Linked DNA regions of Homo sapiens: region 2 is linked to region 1. Evidence: promoter capture Hi-C in human tissues and cell types (Jung and others, 2019). All regions are on one chromosome and are shown on one strand. Each heading gives the region's core, a stretch centred on a gene start or on the middle of the fragment in contact. The rest is flanking DNA. Distances are from core to core; before and after follow the strand shown. Region 1 holds the start of NANOS3 (nanos C2HC-type zinc finger 3). Region 2 has its middle 18 kb from the start of IER2.

What was found. The method cuts DNA at HindIII sites, captures the fragments that hold promoters and counts their contacts. A contact is called where the count stands out against the background at its distance.
Region 2: a fragment that was not itself captured here is called in contact with the fragment with the promoter of NANOS3 in region 1 in 1 of the 25 tissues and cell types used here (hippocampus).

What each region holds. Positions count from the first base shown.
Region 1 is chr19:13,874,768-13,879,005 of GRCh38, reverse strand. It overlaps NANOS3 (nanos C2HC-type zinc finger 3), which reads right to left and starts at 1,872. Exons shown (of 2, transcript NM_001098622.3): 1 at 1,241-1,872. The coding sequence starts at 1,757. MIR181C (microRNA 181c) reads right to left here; the gene lies at 4,198-4,238. MIR181D (microRNA 181d) reads right to left here and starts at 4,131; the gene lies at 3,995-4,131. The HindIII fragment of the contact is 41,747 bases long and covers 1,312-4,238 here.
Region 2 is chr19:13,165,938-13,170,522 of GRCh38, reverse strand. No RefSeq gene overlaps it. Among named protein-coding and RNA genes, the nearest start is that of IER2, 18 kb to the right of the region's middle. RefSeq lists enhancers at 1-400, 401-901, 2,594-3,221. The HindIII fragment of the contact is 8,994 bases long and covers 1-4,585 here.

The sequences.
Region 1 (4,238 bases), core at 623-3,122:
CGCGCCACTGCACTCTAGCCTGGGTGACAGAGCAAGACTCCATCTCAGAAAAATAATCAAATAAAAGAAAGAAAGAAAGAAAACCTCACTGGGGCCAGGCGTGGTGGCTCACGCCTATAATCCTAGCATTTTGGGATGCCTAGGCAGGAGGATCACCTAAGCCGTGTTTGAGACCGGCCTGGGAAACATAGTAAGACCCTGTTTCTATGGGAGGAAAAAAAAAACACACCAGGAATGGTGGTGCACGCCTGTAATTCCAGCTACTCGGGAGGCTGAGGCAGGAGAATCGCTTGAACCCAGGAGGCAGAGGTTGCAGTGAGCCAAGATCGCACCACTGAACTCCATCCAGCCTGGGTGGATAGAGCGAGACTCTATCTCAAAAAAAAAAATTAAAAAAAAAAAGGAAGAAAAATAAATTGATAAATAAATAAAATAAAAGTCTTCTTTCTGCATCTATAATAACCCTGCGGGCCAGATGTGGTGGCTGATGCCTGTAATCCCAGCACTTTGGGAGGCTGAGGAGGGTGGATCACGAGGTTGGGAGTTCGAGACCAGCCTGGCCAACATGGTGAAACCCCATCTCTACTAAAAATACAAAAATTAGCTGGCCATGGTGGCAGGCGCCTGTAATCTCAGCTTCTCAGGAGGCTGAGGCAGAAGAATCGCTTGAACCCGGAAGGCAGAGGTTGCAGTGAGCCAAGATCATGCCACTGCACTCCAGCCTGGGTGACAGAAAGAGACTCTGTCTCAAGATAAATAAATAAATACATAAACAAACTGGCTCGGTGCGGTGCTCACGCCTGTAATCTCAGCAGTTTGGGAGGCCGAGGTGGGCGGATCACGAGATCAGGAGTTTTGAGACCAGCCTGGCCAACATGGTGAAACCCCATCTCTACTAAAAATACAAAATTTAGCCGGGCATGGTGGCAATTAGCCGGGTGTGGTGGCGCGCGCCTATAATCCCAGCTACCCAGGAAGCTGGGGCAGGAGAATCGCTTGAATCCAGGAGGTGGAGGTTGCAGTGAGCCGAGATGGCGCCACTGCACTCCAGCCTGAGCAACAGAAAGAGACCTGTCTCAAGATAAATAAATAAATACGTAAATAAAATCAACTGCTGTTCTAAGCTCTCTCTAAGGTCTTCCCCTAACCCTTGGAGGTGGGTACTGGGGCTAATCTTACTTCACAGGGGGGCTCAGCCACTACCCTCGGACAGGTCCCCCCCAGCCACCTGTGCAGGCACCTGCTCCTCCTCCTCCTCCTCGGCGGTGGCCTGTGTCCTGTGTCTTCGCCTTGTCAGGCCGGACCAGCTTCTTGCCTGCCGAGTTTCGGGTGGTGTGGCTGTAGACGGAGGTGTAGCCCTGGCCAGTAAGTGGGCAGAAGCGTCGGGTGTGGGCGCGCTCACGTGTGGCGCCGCACTGGGGACACACGTAGTCCCGCAGGATGGGACACAGCACCCTGCCAGCCTCGTCCTTCAGCACGTGGGACTGGTAGATGGCCCGGGACTCGCCGTTGTGTTTGCAGAAAGAGCACAGGCGTTCGGGAGCTGGCGAGGACTCCAGGCTGCGCTTCTGATCCTTGGGTCCCGGCACTGGCACCGACTCCGGCGCTGGCATCGGCTCCAGGGCTGACACCGGCTCCAGCATTGGCTCTGGCTCTGGCTGGGGGCTCAGCCTGGTTTCAGGACCCTCTTTCCCACTCAGAGCCCTAACCAGGTGTGCCAAACCCAGGTAATCTGTCCACAGGTCAAAGGTCCCCATAGCTGGGCAGCATGTGCCAGGCGGAAGGAGTCACAGAGACAAGTAACCCTGCCTGGCTTAAGCTCCCTCCTTCTGACCCCTCTCTGCTGCCCCTTCCTTCCCCTCTCTGGAGCCTGGGAGTCTGTGCTGGCCGACCCTCCTTTTACCTCCAAGGGGGTGTGAAGAGGGAGGAGCAGGCTGTGGGAGGTTCCTTATTGTCACAGGGGGGCCTGGTGCCCCACTAATACTCCTCCTAAAGGGCTGTATGGCCTCTGGCTGTGCCGGGGGACTACAGGACACAGGGTGTGTGGGGGGGCATCCTGCGAGGTGCACCACAGCCCCCCGTACACACCTCCAGGGAATTGGGGGGCTACCCTGCCTCCCCTCCTTGTAGGAGTCCTTAGCCCTCCAGCCCCACTGGAGGATGGGGAGAATGGGTTGGAAACCCCACCCCCAAAGACTAGCAGTTACCAGTAACTTAAAGAAGTTAACTTAGTAACTTCTTTATAACTTTTTCTTCCTTCCCCTGGGCGGGGGAGTGGCCAGGTGCCCCTGGGTTCTTTGTGTGTGTGTGTGTCCAGGCGGGAGGTTGCTGATGCTCCAGCTGTCTCTGAAAGGAGTGTGGTAGTCCCAGGCTCATGGGCTGGTTGCGGGGGTAGGGGGGAAGGATCATGCCCCCCGGCCCCCAGCTCTGGTCTCCCTCCAAGAGTTTTCACATCGGTTGTCTTAGTGGAACCCCCATTGAATGGATGAGCAAACTGAGGTGTGAAGCCACCTGCCCATCCAGTTATTTATAAAGACATGCACCAGGCCAGGGAGTGGTGGCTCATGCCTGTCATCCCAACAGTTTGGGAGGCCAAGACAGGCGGATCACCTGAGGTCAAGAGTTCGAGACCAGCCTGGCTAACATGGTGAAACCCTGTCTCTACTAAAAATACACACACACACACACACACACACAAAATTAGCTGGGCATGGTGGCGGGTGCCTGTGATCCCAGCTACTCAGGAGGCTGAGGCAGAAGAATTGCTTGAACCCAGGAGGCAGAGGTTGCGGTGAGCCAAGATCAAGCCACTGCACTCCAGCCTGGGAAACAGAGTAAGACTCTGTCTCAAAACAACAACAACAAAAAGCACCACATCTGCCTCCTTCTTCTAGTTACTGGGGCCCCCTGAGGCTAGGTGCTGGGGAGGGAGCCCTTTCCTGGCGGGGGCTGCAGAGGGGTGAGAAAGAACCCTCTGGAGTTGGGAGGTGGGGGATAGCAAGTTGGGCTGTTAGGAGGGGACCCCTAGTACCTACAGGTCTTCAGTGTCCTCCCCGAGATGAGATCTCAGCTCAGTCCCAGGAGGGGAGGGTGTGCTCAGGACTTGGACACAGAGGAGAGACGCTGTGCCGCTTACACAGCTCATCCACCCATCCATTCATTTAAGAAACTTTTATTGGCCAGGCACTGTGGCTCATTTTGAGAGGCCGAGGAGGATTGCTTGAACCTAGGAGTTGGAGACCAGCCTGGGCAACGTTTTGAGACCCTGTTCCTACAAAAACACTTTTTCGAAATAAGCTAGGTGTGGTGGTGCGTGCCCGTGGTTCCGGCTACTGGGGAGGCTGAGGCGGGAGGATCAACGCTTGACTCCAGTTATTAGAGGCTGCAGTGAGCTAAGGTCACACCATTGCACTCCAGCCTGGGTGACAAGAGCGAGATCCTGTCTCTAATTTAAAAAACAAAACTATGGAGCACTCCACGGAGCAGAACTTACCACCCACATTTCAGAAAGGGGTTTTAGGCCAGGCAAAGTGGCTCATGCCTGTAATCCCAGCACTTTGGGAGGCCGAGGGGGGAGGATTACTTGAGGTCAGGAGTTTGAGACCAGCCTGGCCAACACAGTGAAATCTCGTCTCTACTAAAAATACAAAAATTAGCCCACTGTGGTGGCAGATGCCTGTAATCCCAGCTACTTGGGAGGCTGAGGCCAGAGAATCACTCAAACCCTGGAGGCAGAGGTTGCAGTGAGCTGAGATTGGGCCACTGCACTCCAGCCTAGGCAACAGAGTGAGACTCTGTCTTAAAAAAAAAAAAAAAAGGGGATTTTAGCTGCCCTGCCCCAGCCTGTTTACCCCCAACCCTCTAATATTTAGTCCCAAATCCAGCCAGAGCCCATCCAGATTCCAGACACCAGCTCTCCTCTCCAAAGAGGAGTGGTTGGGGTCAGGGCAAAAAACAGGCTGAGTGACTGTGGCGGTGGGGGGTCCTGTCCCCAGTCCCCATTCCCCTTAAGCCGTGTCTGGCCCAGCCACAGTGACATTCATCCCCCGGTGGGTCTGGCCTCAGTCCTCACAACCCACCGACAACAATGAATGTTGATTGTGACCTCGGCTGTGGCCTAGGGGAGGGGACGTGCCCAGGCTGGATTGGGGGCTCCCCAGGCCCCCCTAGATCTGGAAGGTCAGAGTCACCGGCAGGAGGATGGCAATTCCAGGCCTCAGGGTCCACTCAACGGTCGA
Region 2 (4,585 bases), core at 1,079-3,578, 710 kb after region 1:
GCTGCAGTGAGCTATGATCATGCCATGAGCTCCAGCCTGGGTAACAGAATGAGACCCTGTTTCAATAAAAAAACAAAACACAACAAAACAGGAGTTGGAAGACAAAGTTTTGGAGAAGAAGTGAGATTCTCACTGGCCTGGAACACCAAGCAAGAGGGGGCTTGGGGCTGCCTGGGTTGCTGGGAAGAGCTGCCAAGGGACCTGTCCAGTCTGGGGAGTGGCCAGGCCAGCAGGGAAGACAGCAGGAGCATCCCTCCTAGCTGAGCATTGTCCCCATCTTTTCAAAATTTACAGGTCAGCTGCCAGGGAGGGAGCCACCCAGAGCAGAGGATGGGCTCACTCGGGTTATCTGGGACAATCACAGGTAACCTCAGTCTGTCTGAGGCAGCCTGAGGGTGGGGCAGAGAATTTCCCAGGAGCCCTGTGGGGTGGGGTGTGCCTGGCTGTGTGGGACCCGCTGGGCCTGGACAAGGCAACTCTGAGAGTTAAGGAGACCGAGCTAGCCCGTCCAGTCTGACCAGAAACCCAGGCTCAAGGTTGGGATATGAGGCCATGGGGGTGGATCCTAGCTCCAGACTCCCAGCCTCAGGGACAGGGCTGGCTTAGTCATCGTGGAACCACTGGGAAGTTGAGGGATGTGTGTGCCTGCCCCACCCTCCACCCCAGGGATGTCCAGAGAGTCATGAGAAAGAGGGACAATGACCAGGCGTAGTAGCTCATCACAGTACTTTGGGAGGCAGAGGCAGGAGGCTCACTTGAAATCAGGAATTGGAGACCAGCCTCAGCAACATAGCAAGACCCCATATCTGCAAAAAAAATTAAAAAATTAGCCAGGCATGGTGATGTACACCTATAGTCCCAGCTACTTGGGAGGCTGAGGTGGGAAGATCACTTGAGCACAGGAGTTCAGGGCTGCAGTGAGCTATGATCATGCCACTACATTGCAACCTGGGTGACAGAGTGAGACCCTGTCTCTAAAAAAACAAACAAAAGAAAAAAGAAAAAGAAGAAAGGCCGGGCTCACGCCTGTAATCCCAGCATTTTCAGAGGCTGAGGCTAATGGATAACTTGAGGCCAGGAGTTTGAGATCAGCCTGGCCAACATGGTGAAACCCTGTCTCTACTAAAAATACAAAAATCGGCCAGGCATGGTGGCACATGCCTGTAGTCCCAGGTACTGGGGAGGCTGAGGCAGGAGAATTGCTTGAACCTGGGAGGTGGAGGTTGCAGTGAACTGAGATGGCACCACTATACGGCAGCCTGGGTGGAAAAAAAAAAAAAGTCAAGTAAAAGAAAGAGGCACAAGCCTGGGAGAAAGGAGGGGAACCAATGAGGATCCCAGGCATATGGAGATACAGCAGTGCCCACTCAGTGCTCAGAGAACAAAGGCCCTCCCATGAACACCCCCAATTACAAGTGGCCTCATCATAGCACTGCTGCCCTGCCCCTGCCAGAGCTGCAAAGCAAAGCAGAGAGAGGTTACATTATAGACATGTAACAAATGTTCTTATGTACGCCATACATATGCAAAAATAACTGATTTTCTTGAGACTGGGCCTTGCTTTGTTACCCAGGCTGGAGTGCAGTGACATGATCATAGCTCACTGCAGCCTCAAACTCCTGGGCTCAAGCCACCCTCCCGCCTCAGCCTCTAGAGTAGCTGGGACTACAGGTGTGCGCCACCACACCTGGCTAATTTTTTGCAGAGATGGGGGTGTGGTGGTCTTGCCATGTTGCATAGGTTGGTCTCGAACTCCTAGCCTCAAGTGATCATCCCACCTCAGCCACTCAAAGCTTTGGAATTACAGGCATCAGCCACTTTGCCTGGCTTAATTTTTTTTTTTTTTTCAGATGGAGTCTCAAAGTCTGGAGCAATGAAACCTCCTCCTCCCGGGTTCCTGATTATCCTGAGTCAGCCTCCTGAGTAGCTGGGGCTACAGGTGCATGCCACCACCACCAGCTAATTTTTGTATTTCTAGTAGAGTCAGGGTTTCACCATGTTGTCCAGGCTGGTCTCGAACTCCTGACCTCAAGTGATCCACCTGCCTCGACCTCCCAAAGTGTTGAGATTACAGGCGTGAGCCACTGCACCCTCTGAAACCCATGGTGAAACCCTGTCTCTACTAAAAATACAAAAAGTAGCCAGGTGTGGTGGCGCACGCCTGTCGTCCAGCTACTCGGGAGGCTGAGGCAGGAGAATCATTCGAACCTGGGAGGTGGAGGTTGTAGTGAGCTGAGATCACACCACTGCACTCCAGCCTGGGCGACAGAGTGAGACTCTGTCTCAAAAAAGAAAAAGAAAAAGAAAAAAAACCTCCCAGACTGAAGAGAAGGCTTTGGTAGATCCAGGGGCATGCACCCTCAGCTTCCCCCTCCAAACTGGCTTCATATCCAACCCTCATGGGAGGGAATTTCTGGTCCCAAACAGCATGACAGTACTTTGAAAATTCCAGTATCTGTTTATAAGGTAGTGTCCGCAGGGATTTGGAAAGTGTCTGGAGAACGCGTGGAAGGCAGCGCGCAGACTTTAGTGGCCTCCCCCAGCCAGCAGCACGAAGGGGTAAAAGGGTCCCAAGAGCCCCACCCCACCTACCGCCACCTCATCCTGAGTCTGAGAGCTGCAGCCCGCACAGACCAGGCAGTGAGTAATTGCAGGTTTGCTTCAAGCCTTCCGGGTCGTGAGAAACCAAAGTTTCACTCCGGAAGGGCGCGCCTCGGCAGCAGGGGAGAGAAGGAAGGGGGTTGGGGGTGGGGTGGTCTCAGGTGGAGGTTGGCAGCGAGCTGGCCTGGAGCCCAGGCTCCAGAGCTTACCAAGCCCCAGCTGCTGGGCCCCGGCCCCTCTGGCCTCTGACACGCCCCTGACTAGGCGGCCTCCCGACAGGCCCTCCCTGCCCCCCGGTCTAAAGGCTGAAGCAATGAGCCATTTCCTTTCCCGTGAACTCAGCCAGGGCCCCGCTGATTGCAGACACCACCAGCAAGGATGGGTACCAGGAAATGGCGGGGGCAGAGGGAGGAGATTGCAGCAGCCTCTCCAGTCTAGCAGTTTGATCATGCTCAGTAAATAATGTTTACAAAACAAGTAAATAAACAAGTGAGGGTGGGGCGCAGTGGCTCACGCCTGTAATCCCAGCACTTTGGGAGGCTGAGACAGGTGGATCACGAAGTCAGAAGTTCAAGATCAGCCTGGCCAAGATGGTGAAACCACATCTCTACTAAAAATACAAAAATTAGCCGGGCATGGTGGTGCACACCTGTAATCCCAGCTCCTCAGGAGGCTGAGGCAGAGAATTGCTTGAACCCGGGAGGCGGAGGTTGCAGTGAGCCGAGATCGCGCCTTGCACTCCAGCCTGGGTGACAGAACGAGACTCCATCTCAAAATAAATAAATTTAAATAAACAAGTGAACAACAGCAAACAAAAAACTTTGTCTTTACCCAGCCCCTGGACTGAGCGTGCACAGATTGACCCCTGGGGAAGTGTTCATCCTGCAGAAAGGGGAGAAGAGAGGAAAATGAAGTGAAGTGGCAAATGATTCTAAGAGGGAACCTGGTGAGTGATCAGCCCTGGATATGAGGAAAGAGAAAACAGGTAGCCCAGGAGTGGCAAGGAGACCTGGGGTGCGGCTCTCAGCTCCCAGAAGGAGCTGGTTCCTTATCTGAGAACCAGAGATAGAAGCTGGGTTTAAGCAAAAGTTCACCAACCAGGACAAAGGTCCTCACACTCTCCTCCTCCCCACCGAAAAGAAAAGAAAAGAAGAAAAATCCGGCCGGGCGTGGTGGCTCACACCTGTAATCCCAGCACTTTGGGAGGCCGAGGCGGGCAGATCACGAGGTCAGGAGTTCGAGACCAGCCTGACCAACATGGTGAAACCCCGTCTCTACTTAAAAAAAAAAAAAATACAAAAATTAGCTGGGCACGGTGGTGCACGCCTGTAATCCCAGCTACTCAGGAAGCTGAGGCAGGAGAATTGCTTGAACCTGGGAGGCAGAGCTTTCAGTGAGCCAAGATTGGGCCATTGCACTCCCACCTGGGCGACAGAGCAAGACTCCATCTCAAAAAAAAAAAAAAATCCAGGAGAGGAAGAATGTCAATGGGCTTTGCTTTACTGGACAGGGTAACCCTGGACACTTTGTTTAACCACTCTGTGCCTCAGTTCCCCTCAGTTCCCTCATCTGTAAAATGGGGCTAATGAAAGTGCCTACCTGGTGGGGCACAGTGGCTCACACCTGTAATCTCAGCACTTTGGGAGGCTGAGGCAGGCAGATCACCTGAGGTCAGGAGTTCCAAGACCAGCCTGGCCAACATGGTGAATCCCCATCTCTGCTAAAAATACAAAAATTAGCTGGGCGTGGCGGTGCATGCCTGTAATCCCATCTACTTGGGAAGCTGAGGCAGGAGAATTGCTTGAACCTGGGAGGCAGAGGGTTCAATGAGCTGATATCGCGTCACTGCACTCCAGCCTGGGCAACAGAACAAGACTCCACTTCAGAAGGAAAAAAAAAAAAAAGGCCGAGCGCGGTGGCTCACACCTGTAATCCCAGAACTTTGGGAGGCCAAGGCGGGCGGATCACCTGAGGTTGGGAGTTC